Linked DNA regions of Homo sapiens: regions 1 and 2 are each linked to region 3. Evidence: promoter capture Hi-C in 16 types of primary human blood cells and fetal thymus (Javierre and others, 2016). All regions are on one chromosome and are shown on one strand. Each heading gives the region's core, a stretch centred on a gene start or on the middle of the fragment in contact. The rest is flanking DNA. Distances are from core to core; before and after follow the strand shown.

The links. Contacts are between HindIII fragments. The CHiCAGO score rates a contact against its expected background, and 5 or more counts as called.
Region 1: a contact is called between a fragment that was not itself captured here and the fragment with the promoter of VASH2 in region 3, in 1 of 17 cell types (M1 macrophages). The highest score is 5.1, in M1 macrophages.
Region 2: a contact is called between a fragment that was not itself captured here and the fragment with the promoter of VASH2 in region 3, in 1 of 17 cell types (total B cells). The highest score is 5.4, in total B cells.

The regions. Positions count from the first base shown.
Region 1 is chr1:212,809,492-212,813,113 of GRCh38, forward strand. It overlaps TATDN3 (TatD DNase domain containing 3), which reads left to right. Exons shown (of 10, transcript NM_001042552.3): 9 at 2,757-2,837. Among named protein-coding and RNA genes, the nearest start is that of TATDN3, 19 kb to the left of the region's middle. The HindIII fragment of the contact is 174 bases long and covers 1,231-1,404 here.
Region 2 is chr1:212,695,035-212,698,587 of GRCh38, forward strand. It overlaps BATF3 (basic leucine zipper ATF-like transcription factor 3), which reads right to left. Exons shown (of 3, transcript NM_018664.3): 2 at 1,927-2,031. Among named protein-coding and RNA genes, the nearest start is that of BATF3, 3.0 kb to the right of the region's middle. The HindIII fragment of the contact is 1,853 bases long and covers 1,260-3,112 here.
Region 3 is chr1:212,949,060-212,952,747 of GRCh38, forward strand. It overlaps VASH2 (vasohibin 2), which reads left to right and starts at 1,482. Exons shown (of 8, transcript NM_001301056.2): 1 at 1,482-1,681; 2 at 2,280-2,759. The coding sequence starts at 2,484. RefSeq lists enhancers at 1,468-1,617, 2,138-2,187. The HindIII fragment of the contact is 4,785 bases long and covers 1-2,089 here.

The sequences.
Region 1 (3,622 bases), core at 68-2,567, 140 kb before region 3:
GGCTAACACGGGGAAGCCCCGTCACTACTAAAAATACAAAAAATTAGCCAGGCATGGTGGTGGGCGCCTGTAGTCCCACCTACTCGGGAGACTGAGGCAGGAGAATGGCGTGAACCCGGGGGGGCAGAGCCTGCAGTGAGCCGAGATCGCGCCACTGCACTCCAGCCTGGGTGACAGAGCGAGACTCCGTCTCAAAAAAAAAAAAAAGAAAAAAGAAAACCATCCACAACCCAATCTAAAATTTAAATTGGGCTAGGCACTGTGGCTCACACCTGTAATCCCAGCACTTTCGGAGGTCAAAGCAGGCAGTTCACCTGAGGTTAGGAGTTCAAAACCAGCCTGGCCAACATGGTGAGACCCCTTCTCTACTAAAAATACAAAAATTAGCTGGGTGTGGTGGCGCATGCCTATAATCCCAGCTACTCAGGAGGCTGAGGCAGGAGAATCACTTGAACCCAGGAGGCAGATGTTGCAGTGAGCTGAGATCGCGCTTCTGCACTCCAGCCTGGGCGACAGAGACTCCATCTCAAAAATAAATACATTAATTAATAAAAAAATAAAATTTAAATTGCATAAGAACCTTAGATTTGGGCCAGGCACGGAGGCTCATATCTGTGACCTCAGCACTTTGGGAGGCCAAGGGTTGCGGATCACCTGAGCTCAAGAATTTGAGAACAGCCTAGGCAATATGGCGAAACCCTGTCTCTACAAAACATATAAAAATTAGCCGAGTGAAGGCAGGGCGCGGTGGCTCACGCATGTAATCCCAGCACTTTGGGAGGCCAAGGCGGGTGGATCACGACGTGGTCAGGAGATCAAGACCATCCTGGCTCACATGGTGAAACCCCGTCTCTACTAAAAATACAAAAAATTAGCCGGGCATGGTGGTGGGCGCCTGTAGTCCCAGCTACTTGGGAGGCTGAGGCAGGAGAATGGCGTGAACCCGGGAGGCGGAGCTTGCAGTGAGCCGAGATCGCGCCACTGCACGCCAGCCTGGGTGACAGAGCGAGACTCTGTCTCAAAAAAAAAAAAAAAAAAAAAAAAAATTAGCCGAGTGTGGTGGTGTGTGCCTATAGTCCCAACTACTTGGGAGGCTGAGGTGGGAGGATGTCTTCAGCCCAGGAGATGGAGGGTCCAGTGAGCCGAGTACGTGCCACTCCACTCCAACATGAGTGACAGAGCCAGACTGTGTCTCAAAAACAAACAAAACCCTTAGATTTATAAACATAAAGCTTTGAGTGCCTTAAAGTGGATGTTAGAAAGAAACACTGAATGTGATGAGGGTGGAGAAACAACAGAAATCACTTCCTTGTCAATGTCGGCACATGATACCAGATGTTTGGATTTCTGCTTGCTGGGTATACCTCATTTTTGCTATGGTTACTATTCTTTGGTTTCCCTAGAAGCTTTGGATAATTTTTAGGAATTAGTGTTTATATTTTAACATAACTTTTAGTAGTGGAATTATGAGAACATCCAGTTAGCATTTATCAATTGAATTGTTTTTTTGAAGCAGAGTCTCACTCTGTCGCCCAGGCTGGGGTGCAGTGATGTGATCTTGTCTCACTGCAATCTCCGCCTCCCAGGTCCAAGCAATTCTCCTGCCTCAGCCTTCCGAGTACCTGGGATTACAGGCGTGTACCACAATGCCTGGCTAATTTTTGTATTTTTTTTTTCCACTCTGGCTAGGCTGGAGTGCAGTGGCGCGATCTCAGCTCACTGCAACCTCTGCCTCCCGGGTTCAAGTGATTCTGCCTCAACCTCCCGAGTAGCTGGGATTACAGGCAGCCACCACTACGCCCGGCTAATTTTTGTATTTTTAGTAGAGACGGGGTTTCACCATGTTGGTCAGGCTGGTCTCGAACTTCCAATCTCAAGTGATCAGCCTGCCTTGGCCTCCCAAAGTGCTGGACAGGTATGAGCCACCACCCCGGCTTAATTTTTGTATTCTCAGTAGAGATGGGGTTTTATCATGTTGCCCAGGCTGGTCTCGAACTCCTGGTCTCAAGTGACCCACCCACCTCAGCCTCCCAAAGTACTGGGATTACAGGCGCGAGCTACCACAACCGGCCTATCAGTTGAATAGTAAAAAATAATTTTTTTTTGAGGCGGAGTCTCGCTCTGTTGCCCAGTCTGGAGTACAGTGGCGTGATCTCGGCTCACTGCAACCTTGCCTGGCTAATTTTTGTATTTGTATTTTTATTTTATTATTATTATTATTTTTTTTTTGAGATGGAGTCTTGCTCTGCTGCCCAGTCTGGAGTACAGTGGGGTGATCTCGGCTCACTGCAACCTCCACCTCCCGGGTTCAAGTGATTCTTCTTCCTCAGCCTCCTGAGTAGCTGGGATTACAGGTGCCTGCCACCATGCCTGGCTAATTTTTGTATTTTCAGTAGAGATGGGGTTTCACCATGTTGGCCAGGCTAGTCTTGAACTCCTGACCTTATGTTCTGTCTGCCTCGGCCTCCCAAAGTGCTGGGATTACAAGCATGAGCCACTGTGCCTGGCAATTTTTGTATTTTTAGCAGAGACGGGGTTTCACCATGTTGGTCAGGCTGGTCTTGAACTCCTGACCTCGTGATCCACCCGCCTCGGCCTCCCAAAGTGCTGGGATTACAGGCGTGAGCCACCGCGCCCAGCCTAAAGCATAAATTTTAAGTTATTGCAGAATAAAATGCATTATTAGTATGTCAATTTAATGCTCTTTATCTTTATTTCTCATGTTTTAAACTTAGCTGCTTTCTCTTTTCTCTAAGAAGCAGAAACTTGTGAAACAATTGCCTTTAACTTCTATATGCTTAGAAACAGATTCACCTGCACTAGGACCAGAAAAACAGGTAAATGGTTTTCTAATTTCTATATTATTTAGATTGTATCTTTCATTTGAGTTCTTTTCAATTTAGCTGTATTTCTCATTATAGTGTAAATACAGTGGAATCCTCATATACTGCCAGATTGAGGGCTTATATTAACTTTATTTCAGGTCTTTCTAAATATAGCTGTTGCACTCCAGAGAATATTATTTGATAATGAAGCATGTCCTAATGTATGTAATAATAAGAGTCAGACCAGTGTAGTAAAAAGCACAGTGTCTGCAGTCAGAAAGACAAATTCAAATCCTGTTATCTACCTAGTAGCTGACTTTGGGCAAGCTACTTAATCTCTCTGAAACTGCTTTTTCATTTATAAAATATGGGTAAAATAATAAATACATTAAAAGATTATGGTGGGCTGGGCACGGTGGCTCACACCTGTAATCCCAGCACTCTGGGAGGCCAAGGCGGGCAGATCACCTGAGGTCAGGAGTTCGAGACCAGCTTGACTAACATGGAGAAACCCTGTCTCTACTAAAAATACAAAAAAATTAGCTGGGCGTGGTGGCACATGCGCCTGTAATCGCAGCTACTCGGGAGGCTGAGGCAGGAGAATCGCTTGAACCCGGGAGGTGGAGGTTGCAGTGAGCCGAGATTGCACCATTGCACCCCAGCCTGGGCAACAAGAGCAAAACTCCATCTCAAAAAAAAAAGAAAAGATTATGGTAAGTATTACATGAAGTAACGTATGTGAACGTAACTAGCAGTATCTGGTATACAGTAGGTATTCAATGAGTGTTCATTTTTCT
Region 2 (3,553 bases), core at 936-3,435, 250 kb before region 3:
GTTGCCAATGCCCCAGAATGGCCTTGCTGAGACGAGCATGGCAGGAGACCTGGCACAATGCCTCATGCCTGTAATTCCAACACTTTGCAGGGCCAAGGCAGGTGGATCGCTTGAGTCCAGGAGATTGAAACTACTCTGGGCAACGTGGCAAAACCCCACCTCTACAAAACTACAAAAATGGCCAGGCGCAGTGGCTCACACCTGTAATCCCAACACTTGGGAGGCCGAGGCGGGTGAATCACGAGGTGAGGAGTTCGAGACCAGCCTGGCCAACATGGTGAAACCCCATCTCTACTAAAAATACGAAAAATTAGGTGGGTGTAGTGGCGGGCGCCTGTAGTTCCAGCTACTCGGGAGGCTAAGGCAGGAGAATCGCTAGAACCCAGGAGGCAGAGGTTGCAGTGAGCTGAGATCATGCCACTGCACTCCAGCCTGGGCAAACAGAGACTCTGTCTCAAAAAAAAAAAAAAAAAAAAAAAAAAACCTACAAAAATAAGGGCTGAGGGGATGAGGTGGGAAGATTGCTTGAGCCTGGGAGGTGGAGGCTGCAGCGAGCCATGATCATGCCATCACACTCCAGCCTGGGCAACAGAGCAAGATCCCGTCTCAAAAAGACAAGAAAGTATAGCAGGAGAGAGCTAAACTAAAATCTTTAATTACACACACCAACCCCGACAAAGACAAGAACATGGAATGGTGGCCCATTCCTCAGATAGATCCTTGGATGCTTTCAAGGCCAGTTCCTGGTATGGAGCAGCTCCACGTCCCAACTGCAGGATTATGCAGGTGTATGCATGAGGGCGGAGGGAAAAGGAATGGCTTAGGATAAATCCTAGGCTTCTGATTTGAGTGATGAGAAAGATGGTTCGCTCCATTAACTGCAGTTTGAAGACAATGAGAAGAGAAAGTCTCAGGGTAAACGGACAATAACACTCTTTTATGGATGTGGTACATCACAGGAGCCTGCAGTGGACCCATGGAGAAACAGCTCAGCAGACACTGAAGCTATGGGGTCTAGGGTCCAGGACAGAGGGCCTGCCTGGAGTAATCAATGTTGGGAGCTGATGCTGGGAGAACAGATTAATAGATTAAGTCTTCCAGGGTGAGAAAAAAAAAAAAGGGCAGAGTTTGAAACACTGGTCACCACCAACATTTAAGCCAATAAAGGGTCGAAGGCTAACAAAGAAATAGAGAAAAAAATCGGCGAAGAGGGTTAGGAAAACTAGGAAATGTGGTCTTTTAGAAGCAAAAGAGGGGAAAGCTTTAAGAAGAGATGGGTCCAAAGTGTCGAATGTTCTAACAAGGTAAAGGATGATGAGACCAGAAAGAGAGTCCTGGATAGGGCAGTGCCAGGGCACTGATGGCTGCAATGGGAGCAGTTTCTGTAGGGTGTGTGTGTGTGTGTGTGTGTGTGTACACACACACATTGGGTACATGTGTGAATGTGTGTGTTTGTTTGTGTGTATATATATGTGTGTTGAGTGGAAAGGGGGTAGCAGAAATTAAATCACAGAGGATTGGGGAATAACCAGGAACCAGGGACACAGAGACAACAGGTGTAACTACTCTTTTTTAAGAAGCAAAGATGTTAGCGGATTACTTTGGAGGGAAACAAAACAAAACAGGAAGTAAGGACGTGAGGGAAGAAAAGAAATGGAGCAAGAACTTGAAAGGGAATCAGGGTCCAGAAGAGGCTCTGTTTTGTTTTATAATGAAATAAACTTGACCATGAGAAGCACTCAGTGGATGAGGGAGAAATGAACACGTCCGTGAGCAAACAGTGAGAACACTGGGCTGGAAGGACCTGGCAGAAATTAGATATGAGTGTTGCTGAAATCGTGATAAAGAGAACAGTCATCACCCCCACTCCCGTGCAAGGCAGAGGCTGTGTGGCTCTAAGGTGGCTTGCCCCTACCACGGTCTCACCTCATGGAGCTTGTCAGCCTTCTGGGTCTGCTTCTTCCGACTTCTCTGAGCAGCAACTCGGTTTTTTTCTCTCCTTCGGACCTTCCTGTCATCATCCTCAGGGCTCTGGGGAAAAACACTGGGTGGGTGTGATGTCGTGGCCCCTCGCCTTACCCTTTTCTGCCCTGTCTCATCACTCAGCGTTGTTCACTGAGCTTCATCATTTGCTTTGCAGTAGACAGCACCACTAGTTGCTATACCAATGGGCTCACAACAGCCCCTTGCCCAGGAGCACTCACCATGTGAGTGTGTGAAGTGTGTGGTGTGACCGCCGTTTAAAAGATGAGGAATAAGAAACTCAGAGAGGTTAAGGACCTTGCTCCAGGTATTACAGCCACTAAGTGGGTGAGTGGGAAGTGGAACTCAGGTCTGTTGGTCTCCAAATCAACGTTCATAAACCTCTAGCCCACAGGGCGTGTGCCTGGAAGAGCTGTGGTGTCAATGTCGTCCATCTGAGACTGGAAAGCTGGGTGGGGGTGGGGGGCGGTGGAGAGATCTGCTATCTGGAACTTGCTGTTTGCCAGTCCTTATACCACCACACATGAAAGGTACTTTTGATACTGCATGCAAATCATGATTACACTTACAACTAATTGCAGCCACATAACTCTACCAACACACCAAATGATCTTAAACCCCACTGACAGTGTACTCATTTGAACAATGCTTGGCTGACATTTTGTTTCAGAAGTCAGCAAATTTTTTATGTGTCTTGAAAGCTGTTAGCTATATGTAAGATTTAACCAAATTCAGTCAAATCCCTCAATAGTGATCATGAAACAGGCAGGCGGAAAAATGCACTGACCATGGTAAAAACACTTCAATCAGCTATAGAAAACATGAAAAAGGAGAGCAGTATTTGCTTTCTAGAACCCCATGAGAAGACACCACCAAGCGGGAAAAATACCACACTTACAGAGTTTAAGAGCCAAGAGGTACAAACAAGGAAAACTACTCAGTTATTAATATTCACGGAATGCAAATATTAATAACACAAAAAAGGATATTTTCAGTTATCATTTGATCTCATCTTGTATTCCACATAAGACACACATCTTCCCAAGTTACTGCAGGTAAGAAGTTTCAGATATGCAAGAATATAAAGGCATAAAAAGGAGAGGAATAAATAACATACATAGCAAATAGAAGCTTAAGGGAACAAAGTATGATAATACAGTCTTCTAGAGAGGCAAAGAAGTCTTGATAAACAAAACCAGAACATTACAGGGGAACATGTGGTTAGAAGACAGCTCTTTAGCTTTAGAATCACACAGATCCTAGTTTTGTCTCTTAGTGTCAACATGGTCTTGTGTAAATGGTTTAAATTCTCTAAATTTTCAGTTTTCTCATTTATTGTAAGCATAATTCATTCATTCTTTCAATATGTATTAACTGAGCACCTACCATGTGCCAGACACTGTTCTAGACACTGGGGATACAAGCCCTAAACAAAGGGTCAGTGAACTCTGCAGACTTGGTGCTAACAGCCTAATGCTTAGGATTGGGATGCGATGAAATGAGATTTTGTCCTAAAGCTCCCAGCATACAGTATGCCCTCAAGAAGTTACCTGCCTTTGTTGAAGTTGCT
Region 3 (3,688 bases), core at 232-2,731:
GTAAGGTGAGAGACGAGGATCCAGTTTCATTCTACATGTCCACTTCAGCCTTTTGAGTAGCTGGGACTACAGGTGTGTGCCACCACATCTGGCTAATTTCAAAATATTTATTTAGTAGAGACAAGGTCTCGCTATGTTGGTCCAGTCTCTAATTCCTGGCCTCAAGTAATCCTTCCTCCTCTTTCTCCCAAAGTGCTGGGTTTAAAGGTGTGAGGCACCACGTCTGCCCTATTCTCATTATTGAATCTATAAAGTTCTTGGCATGGGCTCTGTCTCAGGGAGCAGTGCAGGGCTAAGTCCAGAATCCAGGTCTCCTCACCCAAGCCCTGGCTCTCAACTACCCCTCAGGGGTCTCTGCCCTCCTGTGGAAGAGAAGTTCCAGTTCCATGACAGGCAACTTGTCAGGATAAGCATCCAGAAACTGACCCGCCATCAGTGGCACTTTGACAACTGTCTTCTTAATTCAAGGTTCACTTAGCATAGGTCTCATAACTGCTTTGCTCAGAGCTGGCCTGCTGGCCTGCAGTTTAAAGAGAAAGGATGCTATGGCCAGGATCCTCAGTGTCACAAGAGAGGAAGTCAGGGAATCACAGAACCTTACAGCCAGAACAGACCCTGGAGAGCGGGAGGTCTGCTCTCCTTTCAGAAAGAGAAGCTAAGGCCCAGAGCAGGGAAGTGGCTTGTCCAGGGTCACACAGCTGAGCAAAGTGACAAACCTGGACCAGGAGCCAGCCTTCAGGTCAGCAGTCTGGTGCTCTTCCCACCTCAACCTGCTCTCCTCTTTCTTAAAGAAAAAGAAAGAGAAGGTGTTTCAGTAGTGAGTGTGGGATAGCCACCCACTTCACCATGGTTTGGAAGCATCTCTCCATCCCTCCTCTCACTCAACAGCTGTGGCAGAACAGTCAGGGCCTGCCTGACCTCTTGAGTTTTATTGTCTCCTCTCAACTTGGGCTTAAAGGGACTTTATTAACCATGACTAATACCAGAGGATCCAAAGCTGCACCCACTTGTTAATTTTGAGGAATTTTTAAATGCGGGATTTAAAAAAGATTTAATTTCACGCATAGGTATGAACAGCCCCTCATCATCCCAGGTAGAGGATGAACAACTCATCATCCCGGGTAGAGGCAGGTAAGTGTGTCCAGCGTCCCTCAGGGAATGCTCTTCTGATGCCAAACCCTCTGCTTCCGCGGGGTCACTTCTCGGGTGGTTTTGTTTCTCCTCTGCTTCCACAGTTGCAAACCCTCGAAGTGCCACGACCCCTGGGGAAACTCGATCTTAAGTCCCATGGCCAAACGCTCCAGCCCGCGGGGCTCTCAGGACACCACAGCGATCGGATTTCGCGTGGCCGCCAGGCTCCCCCTACTCCTGTCCCCTCCCGCCAGAGAACCCCTGGAGCCAATCAGAGCGTCGCGGAGCCCGGGGTTGTAGAGTCCCGAGCCCGGGACCCGCCCCTCTTTGTTGCGGTGGCCAATAGACGCATTCGGAACATCGGCGGCTGCCCGGGTGACTTGGTTATATGTCACAGAATAACATTCGAGAATGGGACATGGAATGAGGCGACGGCCCCAGCAAGCCCCAGCAGCCCCAGCCCCAGCCCCAGGCCCAGCAGCAGCAGCAGCAGCCCCTGCTCTCCCGCCGCCCGGAGAGGCTCTGCAGCCATGAAGCCAACCGTCCCGAGGTAGGATCTTGGAGCTGCCGCGCGCCCTTCCTGCGCGCCGCCCGCCTGCAGCCAGTCCCTCCCGGTGATAGGCGCTGGAACTCGGGGAAAAGGGGGCGGATGGAGCTCTTTCCACTAGATCCCCGCCGGGGTCCGGGAGGGCTTCCTGGAAGAAAGCGGGCCGCCTTGCAAGCCAAGGCTGCTGCAGCGCCCTCGCGCCAGCTCTGGGCGCTCACATGCCAGCACGTTCGTGGCTCCCCTCCTCTCTTGGCCACATCTGAGGACCCAGGAATGTGTGGAGCCTTGCGGGAACCTCCTGTTCCTTCATGCTACACAAGCTGTCTTTCTTCTCCCCACATCTTGCGCTCCGCATCCCCCAAGCTCCTTGTGCCCCTCCATCCCCAACCCCCCGGGTTTAGGTGTGTGTGAAGCTTCGTGGCACATTTTGAGCTGCCTTTCTAGGTAATCGCAGGGCTGGAAGCCCGTCATCGATTCTCAGGGAGGCTGTCAGCGTGCAGGGGGGAGCGGGGAGTGTCGTGGAGACACTCCGGGACCCCTCACTCGGTTCCGCTGTGCGTCCACTTAGCTGTGGTGTCAGCTGTGTCTCCGCTGATTTCAGGCACCGCCGGTAAGCAGGGAGCCTCCGCGGAGCTCCCGCCGCCGCTCCCCCTTGGTGAGTCCTGCCGCAGCGAGAGGCATGGAGAAGGCCGCCCCCGCGGGGCGCTGATCCCCTCGCCGCGCCCGCGCGCACACGCCCCCCGCCGCCGCCGCCGCTGCCGCCGCCGCGCGCCCCCAGTACCTCGCTCCCCGCCCAGGCCCCACCATGACCGGCTCCGCGGCCGACACTCACCGCTGCCCCCACCCCAAAGGCGCCAAAGGCACCCGGTCCCGGAGCAGCCACGCGCGGCCCGTGAGCCTCGCCACCAGCGGGGGCTCAGAGGAGGAGGACAAAGACGGCGGGGTGCTGTTCCACGTCAACAAGAGCGGCTTCCCCATCGACAGCCACACCTGGGAGCGCATGTGGATGCACGTGGCCAAGGTGCACCCTAAGGGGGGAGAAATGGTGGGCGCCATCAGGAACGCCGCCTTCTTGGCAAAGGTCAGTGGCTTCCAGGGCGGAGTTGGGGGGCTGGGGGTAGGTAGGCAGCGATGGGACCGTTTCAGCCTATACATAGCAAACACAGGCAATCTCCATTTTCCTAGTCCTGCTACAAACTCCCTTCCTCTCCCCATTCCTTCCTGCCAGCCCTTTTCTAATTGAGATATTTAGATTGGAAGCCTAAGAAATGGGGAAGGGAGAGGTAGCGGGCTTGCTATCCTGGGACTGTGTAATTGGATTGTGCCAAGGTGTCTTTGAAGCTCCAGCCAAACTCTATTATTTACTCACCCCCACATACATCCTCCTTCAGCAAAAGCTAGAGCCACCAGGTACCAGCGATGCCAAAGAATGCACAGACCCCAGGGATCCCACCCTGCTTGTTCTCTTTGGAGTGTCTTGCTCCTCCTCTGCTCCCCTCTTCCCCCAGCAAATGATTTATTAAGCTGTGAATGAATTTGAAATCAACCAGTCAGACTTCTCAGTGTGAATAATTTCCAGACTTTTTGCCAGTTTTTTTTCTTTTCTTTCTGGTTTTTTTGTGTGTGTGTGTGTGACAGTGACTTTCACCTCTGAAACTTGCAAAACGGTGAACTCTCTCTCTCTCTTCCCAGCTTATTTGTGCTCCAAGAAAAAAGAAAGACTTTTGGCTGAGACTTAAAAGGGACTTTCCAGTACACATGATGAATTAGTCTCACTGGATAGAAAAAGAGGATGAGGAGTGAAACTCTCTTTTTGCCTTGGAGAGAAGCCAGTGAGCCATTTGGGTTTGGTGGCTAAGGATATCTTTACCGAGGGAGGGAGATGTACCCTGGTGGGAGTAGATACGTTATATGAAACATCAAAATGCAAACTGGGGAGAAATGCTGCCGAGCCTCGGGGTTATAGCGTGGCGGATGGTTTCCCCTGGACCCTGGGGACGCTGGTACGGC